Regions from separate parts of the Homo sapiens genome. Here regions 1 and 3 are each linked to region 2. The links are contacts of gene promoters, found by promoter capture Hi-C in human tissues and cell types (Jung and others, 2019). All regions are on one chromosome and are shown on one strand. The core of a region is centred on a gene start or on the middle of the fragment in contact, and the rest is flanking DNA. Distances in the headings are between cores, read along the strand shown.

Evidence for each region. Contacts are between HindIII fragments. The study calls those that stand out against the background at their distance.
Region 1: a fragment that was not itself captured here is called in contact with the fragment with the promoter of DNAJA2 in region 2 in 1 of the 25 tissues and cell types used here (dorsolateral prefrontal cortex).
Region 3: a fragment that was not itself captured here is called in contact with the fragment with the promoter of DNAJA2 in region 2 in 1 of the 25 tissues and cell types used here (lymphoblastoid cells).

The regions. Positions count from the first base shown.
Region 1 is chr16:47,653,387-47,656,086 of GRCh38, reverse strand. The region is part of intron 20 of PHKB (phosphorylase kinase regulatory subunit beta); the gene reads right to left. Among named protein-coding and RNA genes, the nearest start is that of PHKB, 190 kb to the right of the region's middle. The HindIII fragment of the contact is 5,173 bases long and covers 1-2,700 here.
Region 2 is chr16:46,972,333-46,975,032 of GRCh38, reverse strand. DNAJA2 (DnaJ heat shock protein family (Hsp40) member A2) reads left to right here and starts at 1,359. Exons shown (of 9, transcript NM_005880.4): 1 at 1,359-1,538. The coding sequence starts at 1,461. DNAJA2-DT (DNAJA2 divergent transcript) reads right to left here and starts at 1,261. Exons shown (of 2, transcript NR_186372.1): 1 at 908-1,261. RefSeq lists enhancers at 948-1,037, 1,098-1,167 and silencers at 1,598-1,647, 1,678-1,757, 1,908-1,957, 1,988-2,057, 2,408-2,487. The HindIII fragment of the contact is 16,518 bases long and covers 1-2,700 here.
Region 3 is chr16:47,620,242-47,622,941 of GRCh38, reverse strand. The region is part of intron 14 of PHKB (phosphorylase kinase regulatory subunit beta); the gene reads right to left. Among named protein-coding and RNA genes, the nearest start is that of PHKB, 160 kb to the right of the region's middle. The HindIII fragment of the contact is 7,108 bases long and covers 1-2,700 here.

The sequences.
Region 1 (2,700 bases), core at 152-2,651, 680 kb before region 2:
CAAGATCGCGCCACTGCACTCCAGCCTGGGCAACAGAGTGAGACTCAGTCTCAATTAAAAAAAAAAAAAAGTAAAACTCTTTGAATCATGACAAAACTACTGACCTCTTTCTCCTATAATTTCTGAAACACAACTAAAAATGGGAAAATGAGATAGGTAGTGAAGTAGACATTAAACTCTGCTGCTGAAAAGAAAGTGATGAAAGTTCAGGTGCTTGAGTATAAAAAGTAGTGAACTAGGAATGGGAAACCATGAATTCTATTCCCTTCTGCAGTAACTAGTCTTAGGACTACAGACAGTTACTGTCCTACAAAGAGCTCTAGTTCTGTTTGTAAAATGAGAAGATTAGATGAAATATCTTAAGGTCTTGACCAACTTGAGCTTTGTGTATAAGGATATATAAGCAAAAAGTTTCCCAATTTCAGATGACACAGGATTAAAAAGGATATCATTCTGACTTTAAAACTCTATGCTGTGCTTGACATTAAAATAAAACAAAAAGAAAAGGAGAAACCTTCAATTTGACTTGAGAGAAAATCACCACACTTTGCACTGTCTTTGTAATTTGTCTATGACTCTTCAAATGAAATGAAAACTCTCCACAACATGGCAGAATATTAAACTTTAAAGTAAAATTATTTTCAACTCAAAGTCATCACAAAACTAAGAATTTGTCAACATCAGAGGCTAAAACTGATAGCTTATGATATGCCCAAAGTAAAAGCTTGAAAGTATTTTGATTTCTTCTTAAAATAAACATCTTTTAAAATTAAGTCATTTAATCCACCTGAAATGTATTTTGGTGTACGATGTGAGGTGATACTCTAACTGCCTTAATTTTTCCCAAAGTATATATTAAATAATCTATACATCCACCATTAATTTATTGTTTCCTTGATTACATATTATTTTAAGTTCCTGTGTGTATACTGGGGTGTTTTTCTGAGTTTACCTATCCTCTGCCATCAATTATAGTGAATAAGTACTACATTGTTTCACTGACTTCTCAATTTTGGTGACTGAATTTTTCATTTAGAATTTCTATTTGATTCTTTTTAAATGTACTATCAAAGTTTCTAATAAAATTCTCCAACTTGTTATCTAATTTTTTTCTTTTCTTTATTTATTTTTTTATTATATTTTAAGTTTTTGGGGTACATGTGCACAACATGCAGGTTTGTTACATATGTATACATGTGCCATGTTGGTGTGCTGCACCCATTAACTCGTCATTTAGCATTAGGTATATCTCCTAATGCTATCCCTCCCCCCTCCCCCCACCACACAACAGGCCCTGGTGTGTGATGTTCCCCATCCTGTGTCCAAGTGTTCTCATTGTTCAATTCGCACCTATGAGTGAGAACATGTGGTGTTCGGTTTTCCGTCCTTGCGATAGTTTGCTGAGAATGATGGTTTCCAGCTTCATCCATGTCCCTACAAAGGACATGAACTCATCCTTTTTTATGGCTGCATAGTATTCCATGGTGTATATGTGCCACATTTTCTTAATCCAGTCTATCATTGTTGGACATTTGGGTTGGTTCCAAGTCTTTGCTATTGTGAATAGTGTCGCAATAAACATATGTGTGCATGTGTCTTTATAGTAGCATGATTTATAATCCTTTGGGTATATACCCAGTAATGGGATGGCTGGGTCAAATGGTATTTCCAGTTCTAGATCCTTGAGGAATCGCCACACCGACATCCACAATGGTTGAACTAGTTTACAGTCCCACCAACAGTGTAAAAGTGTTCCTATTTCTCCACATCCTCTCCAGCACCTGTTGTTTCCTGACTTTTTAATGATCGCCATTTTAACTGGTGTGAGATGGTATCTCTTTGTGGTTTTGATGTGCATTTCTCTGATGGCCAGTTAAGCATATTGATCGTAGTTATTCTGACGTCTATGTCTGATAACTCTAATATCTGAACCAATGTAGGTGGCTCTCTGTTGTTTGATCACTCGTGGCATGCCTGATAATTTTGAATGAAAGACAGACACTGCACATATTTGTAGAAATACTTTGAGGTTCTGGATAATGTTATCTACTACTCTTTGTGAGGAGTGAACTATTTCTGATTCCCTTTTAGTCAAAGGTATAGCTTTTCAAGAGGGTCATCTGGAAGTCTGAAGTATTTATTGAAATCCCTCTTCCCTGGTGGGCCCTGAACTCTGATTTTTGTCCTTAACCATATGAAATTGCCAAAAGCTCTACTCCACTGAAATTACCATGATTATAATAAACTAGTAGACTAATTTAGGAGGTACTCACATTTTTGTAATAGTCTTTTCATCCAAGAATATGGTATAGCCCATTATTTATTCAAATCTTATATTTCTCTTCAAAATTATCTAGGTCTTTTTTTTCCATATAGGCCCACATATTTCTTAAAAGGAATAGAAAAATGCCTAGGTACATCCTGGAATGGGAGGGACACTTAAGCATAAAATCAAAAGTAGATTTCTGGTTAATATGACCAAGACATATCTTTAACTCCTGTTTTTCCTAAAATCCCAAAAATGATAGTGGAAAAAAATGTTTAAGGTATAAACCCACTAAGGTATAAATCCATTAGGACAAAGAGAACAGGAAAGAGCCTCAGGACCCTAAGATCCAGACACTGCTGGGATTCACAGACGCTCCACATAGGAAGACTGGGTCCAAAAGTTCCTTTCCATTCCCTAAACACTTAGGGAGT
Region 2 (2,700 bases), core at 110-2,609:
AAGAGTTCGAGATCCTACCACAAAAGGTACAAACGAAGGGTGGTGGGAACTCGAATGAGATAGCAGTGTTCACCAGTGCCCAGTAAAGGAAGACTTCACAGAGGGAGCAGGATTTCAGATGGGATTTGAGGAAAAGGGTTTAAGGACTATTAATGACTTATCACTGATTACTCTTAGGGTTTTCAAGCTAAATTTCAGAGTCCTTGTCATGGAATTCAGGCCCTCCACAACTAGGTCAAAGGGAACGCCAAGGAAGAAACATTATCCTGAGTGAGATGCTTATGCTGAAGTCTTTGCTATCAGTTCAGGTTCCAAGGGATCAGAAAACCTTACTTTTCTGTCTCCATAAACCGTAAATGGGTTGAAGGCAGGCACTTTTGTAACACTCCTCTCCCCGGACCAGGCCTCTGTACATCATAGCACTTGGTAGATGCACAGCATACTTTCTGAGCGAAACTAAAACGAATGTAAATCAAGTCACCTGGTGGCCAGACTTGCCTTACACCATCTAAACCTCTGGTGTTAGCTAATTTTAAAGCTATCAAGTAAGAGGCTTAAACACGTGGTCCAGATGCAACATGTGGACCTTGGTTTGGACCCGGATGCCACAAACCAATTGTAAAAGGACATGAGATCATCTGAAAAACCTAAATATGGACTGGGAATTAGATTAAGGAATTGTTAATTTCATTAGATGAGATTACATCGTTATGCCTTTAAAAGTTGTCTCTTAGATATTAAATATATACACTTAGGGTATTTATGAATGAAACGGTTTCCCTTAAAACACTAGAAATGTATGGTGGAGCCAATGAAACAGGTAAAAGGTAGCTAACTGCACTATGGGGAGTAATATACTGCTTCTGCTAAATGTTTCAGAATTCTCATAATATAAAACACAACATACACACACACGCGCCCCCCAGTTTTTTTCATCGTAAGCCCCGAGGGAGCCAGACCCAGAGGGTCCACCGACGTCCCGGATTCTAATAACGACATCTGCGCGCCAGGCGGGCCTCCTGCGGGAGCCGGGGCCCATTTTCTTTCGAAGCTAACGAAGCTGCTGCGCAGGCCTGTTAATTCCCTCAGCAGCCAGTGCGAGGTTAAACACGCGACCTCGCAACCATGGCTTTTGAGAGGAAGCTGAATTCCTGGGGTGCGCCGTGCACAGTTCTTCATTTCCTACGTTGGCCCTGCCCAGCCGCCTGGACCTGGAGGAAAACAGAGAACCTGGCCCACTCTTCAATACTTCGACCCCAGTGGCCGCGCCTCGGGCGCTCGGGGGCGGGCTCTGCACAGCGACGTCACGGCGCACCGTGCGCTGGGTCAAAGTTCAGCCCCGCCCCCGCTTCCCCCTCGCTGTCTCCCTCGGCCTGTGCCGCCGCCGACGCCGCTTGTGGGCCCGACTCCGCTCTGTCTGCTTCGCCACCTTCTCCCCGAGCACTGCCCGGCCGGCCGCCATGGCTAACGTGGCTGACACGAAGCTGTACGACATCCTGGGCGTCCCGCCCGGCGCCAGCGAGAACGAGCTGAAGAAGGTATCTGGGAGCGGGCCGGGCGGGTGTGAGGGGCGCGGGGCCTGCGCGGCCAGGGATGTCTTCTTCAGCCAGGCCGCGCTACTGGGCTGCCCGCGAGCCGGCGCCGGCCGTGACTGGCCCGGGCTGGGAGTCGGCGGCGGCGGCGGGACCGGCCTCGCCGCGAGCCGCGCACTCCGGCCTCGGCTGACCTTGGGGCCGCCGGCCCCGCCCGCCCGCAGATGCAGCAAATAAAACTCACTCCTGCGCAAACACGATGGGAGCCCTTCCTTCCTCCCTCCTTGAACGAGCGCCGGGGGCTGGTATCCCCCGGGAGGCAGCAGCTCGCCCGGTCCTTCGCGTCGAGGTCACCACCCCGGAAAAACAGGTTGGACCGAGGTGCTCAGCGCATCCCGGCCCCGAGAGAGAAGCTGTCCGCCCCGCGGCCGTCGGCCCCGGGTCTGGTGCTCCGCGGGGAGGAACGGCGGGGAGGTCGAGGCCGCCCCCACAGAGCGCCTCGGGCGGATGGGGTTGTTTCCTGGGTTCCGCGGCCGCCGGCTGCGGGAGCTCCTCCCTCTCTGCGTCCCTCGCCCATTGACCCGGAGGTAGCTGGGTCTGTGTTTGGATGCATTGTTCTTTGGGCAGGTAATGCTAATGTCCTGTACCTGCTTAGGAATAAGCCGTGGTCCCAGCCAAACGCCTGAGTGTACAGTAAACATAAATAGAAGGCCTTATTATTGCTATTTGCAATGCTGCGATATCTTTCATCTCAGGATTTCAAAGCACACGAGGCATTTAAGCCCCACAGCATCCTCACCAGGCTAAGAGCATCCAGATTTGTAAGCCGAGAAAAATGAGAATGCTCCTTAGGCAGTGAGAAGAGTACAGTGGACTTCCTGTTACCTTACCGGAAATGCTAGTCTGTATTATATAATTCACGAGCCTCCGTGAATGAAGATTTAAGTGCTTTAGGACCCAAACACCTCGTTGAGAGTGTGTGCAACTTCTCTACCACCGAAGTTGCCACCACGACCCCAGTTAACCACCACGTGCAAATAAAACACCAAAAGACGCTAACTAGGACCACCTTTACTTTTTCATGATGTTACAGTTAGAAGGAAGGCGTGAGCCATCGGGAGCAGGAATTGTGACTTTAGCTTGATTTATAGTAATGTTTTGCAGTCCG
Region 3 (2,700 bases), core at 131-2,630, 650 kb before region 2:
AAAGTAATTCATGCAAAATTCTATGCATTTGTATATTTAGAGGAGAAAGCATGAAACTCCCACTTCCTCATTAATTTGAAAAATGAGAGACCAAGTGTACTATATGTTTTTAGCTGAGATCTATATAAATATGTACATGATTTAGCAAACAAGTACTGACTTTCATCCTCAATTTGGAAACTTGCAGCACAGAAAATAAGCTCTTATGACTAAAAAGCATTCCTTTCATATTGGCCTTTTCTCCAAAGACTGTCAAAGTAGATCAATCCATTTTAATTGGCATATTAAATGGGCTAGTCTACTTCACAGATTCAAAGCTTGGGTGTCACTGAATGCGAAACTGAATTCTCTCAAGGGTGTGTCAATACACATGATCTGCTCTATCATAATAATTCTGCCATTAAAGTAAAATATTGCCTCAAGTAGCTGACCAAAAATACTTGTATTTTATTCACCTGCATGACAGCAAAAATACATGGAACTCTCCAAGGACCTCATGAGAGAAAAATCATTCCTCAAGAAAGTAGACACTCCCAAAGCCCAATCCTTTGTTTTAGAAGGGGGCAACTTGTCAGGATATAGATTATTAAACAAGGTGGAGCTAGAAGGCGTTAATTGATAGGTTTTCTTCAAAGATCACTAGACCTTTAAAAATGTGAATAGATTCAAAACAGGAAAAAACGTGAAGTAGGTAAATTTCAGGTTAAGTTCACAAATTTATTCATATTTATGAATAACTGAGATTTCTTTCCTTAGAGAAAAATGTCAGAAATATAGATTCATTAAAACAATACTAGATCATAATAATCCTTGTATATCTTTATTCTGGACCATAAATCTTGCTTTCTTACTTCTATTTTTCCTTCTTTTACATTTTAGCCATGAGTATAAGAAGTTTCCATCCTGTAGATGAAATATTTCATTATACATCATGCCTATTATTGAAACTTTTAATTTTAATAGGTTAAATGGGTTAATTAGAATGATGTTATTAAATGTGTTTAAGCTCATTTTTTTGACTTCCAATTCAACTTTTCTCAGTTCTGGATTTTTTTTATCAAGGCATTGAATTTTAATTGGCTCAGGTATAAATACCAATTGATAAGAGACTCTTCATTACCCTTCAAGACAGCAGACAGAATTACCTGAGGAGAAACTCTGTGCGGCTGTGGCATATTCAGGCTAGGCTCTCTCAGAAGCATCTTTGATGCCTTGACTATTTTATTCTGTTTTACTAAGATAATCATAAGAACTTCTATTCAGTACTCAAATTCACTCCCATGCTTGGGTTTTTGGTCCCACACAAACGCTTTATTTCTTTGCCAAGCTAGTGAAGTTGTTGTTGTTATTTTTTAATCTTTTAAGTAGAAATTATGTCTCAAACTGGTTAAACTATTTGAGAGCATTAGAACACACTGAGCCAGATAAAACTGAGCCACATGCATGATTTCCTTAAATCACCTTAAATATCCTTAAATCTTTTTAAAGACTAATAAATCTTTAAAAACTGAATAGATTTAGAACAAAACTTTAAAAAGGGAAATCGCTACAAGTCCATATTGTAGGAGTGCTATATAATGTATCTACCAAATTAGGAGGGGTTTATAACCTTTCTTGGATTGCAGTAAACTCAACTTCCTGAGCAGATGGTCTTCCACCATATAATTCCTTTTTAACTCCCTACAGTCTGGCGACTGGGCACACTACTCCACTAAAGTCACTTAAAGGTTACCAATAACCTAGATTATGGAAGCCAGCAACAGAAGCGCTGGAAGGGGATTTACGAATTAAACCCAGCCAAATAATTTTACAGATTAGAGAACTACACTCCAGAGATGCTAGGAGTCCTTCCCCAGATTATACTGCAGTGAATCACACAAGGTCTAAAGAACTAGTACCTGAATTTCTGCCAGTGCTTTGCTGCTCCTCCCAGCCAATGAGGTAGTCAGCCTTCCTGAACCAAGAAATCAAAATTCTTTACACTTTATACCATTTTAAACTTCTTGCTAGATTATACTGTCCTGCCCTTCCTAGAACATCTCTTTTTTTTTATATTTTTTATTTTTTTGAGACAGAGTCTCACTCTGTTGCCCAGGCTGAACTGCAGTGGCACAATCTTGGCTCACTGCAACCTCTGCCTCCTAGGTTCAAGCAATTCTCCTGCTTCAGCCTCCCGAGTAGCTGGGACTACAAGTACACGCCACCACACCTGGCTAATTTTTGTATTTTTAGTAGAGACGGGGTTTCACCATGTTGGCCAGGCTGGTCTTGAACTCCTGACCTCGTGATCCACTTGCCTCGGCCTCCCCAAGTGCTGGGATTACAGGCGTGAGCCACCATGCCCGGCCAGAACATCTCTTTACTCCAGCATCTGCATTACCTATACTGTGGGAAAGAATGAAGCCTGGAGCCTGGCCTTCCAAGAATTGTCTGCTCCCATAGGTTAATTTCCACCATGAACCATGTTCAATAGAATACAATCTTGCATCTTTTATTTATATTAACTACTGGGCACCTCAATTAATTGTCATGTCTGCATTGGAACTATCAAAATACAAGTAACAACAACTGCTAAGCCCAAGGTTGGATTCAGAAGCATGCAGTGTGCCTCCTGTGTTCTTAACCATTTTGCTAGGCAGAACATCCAACAATATGAAACCTTTCCTATTTGTACTCTTGAATATTGAAATAGCATTTTCA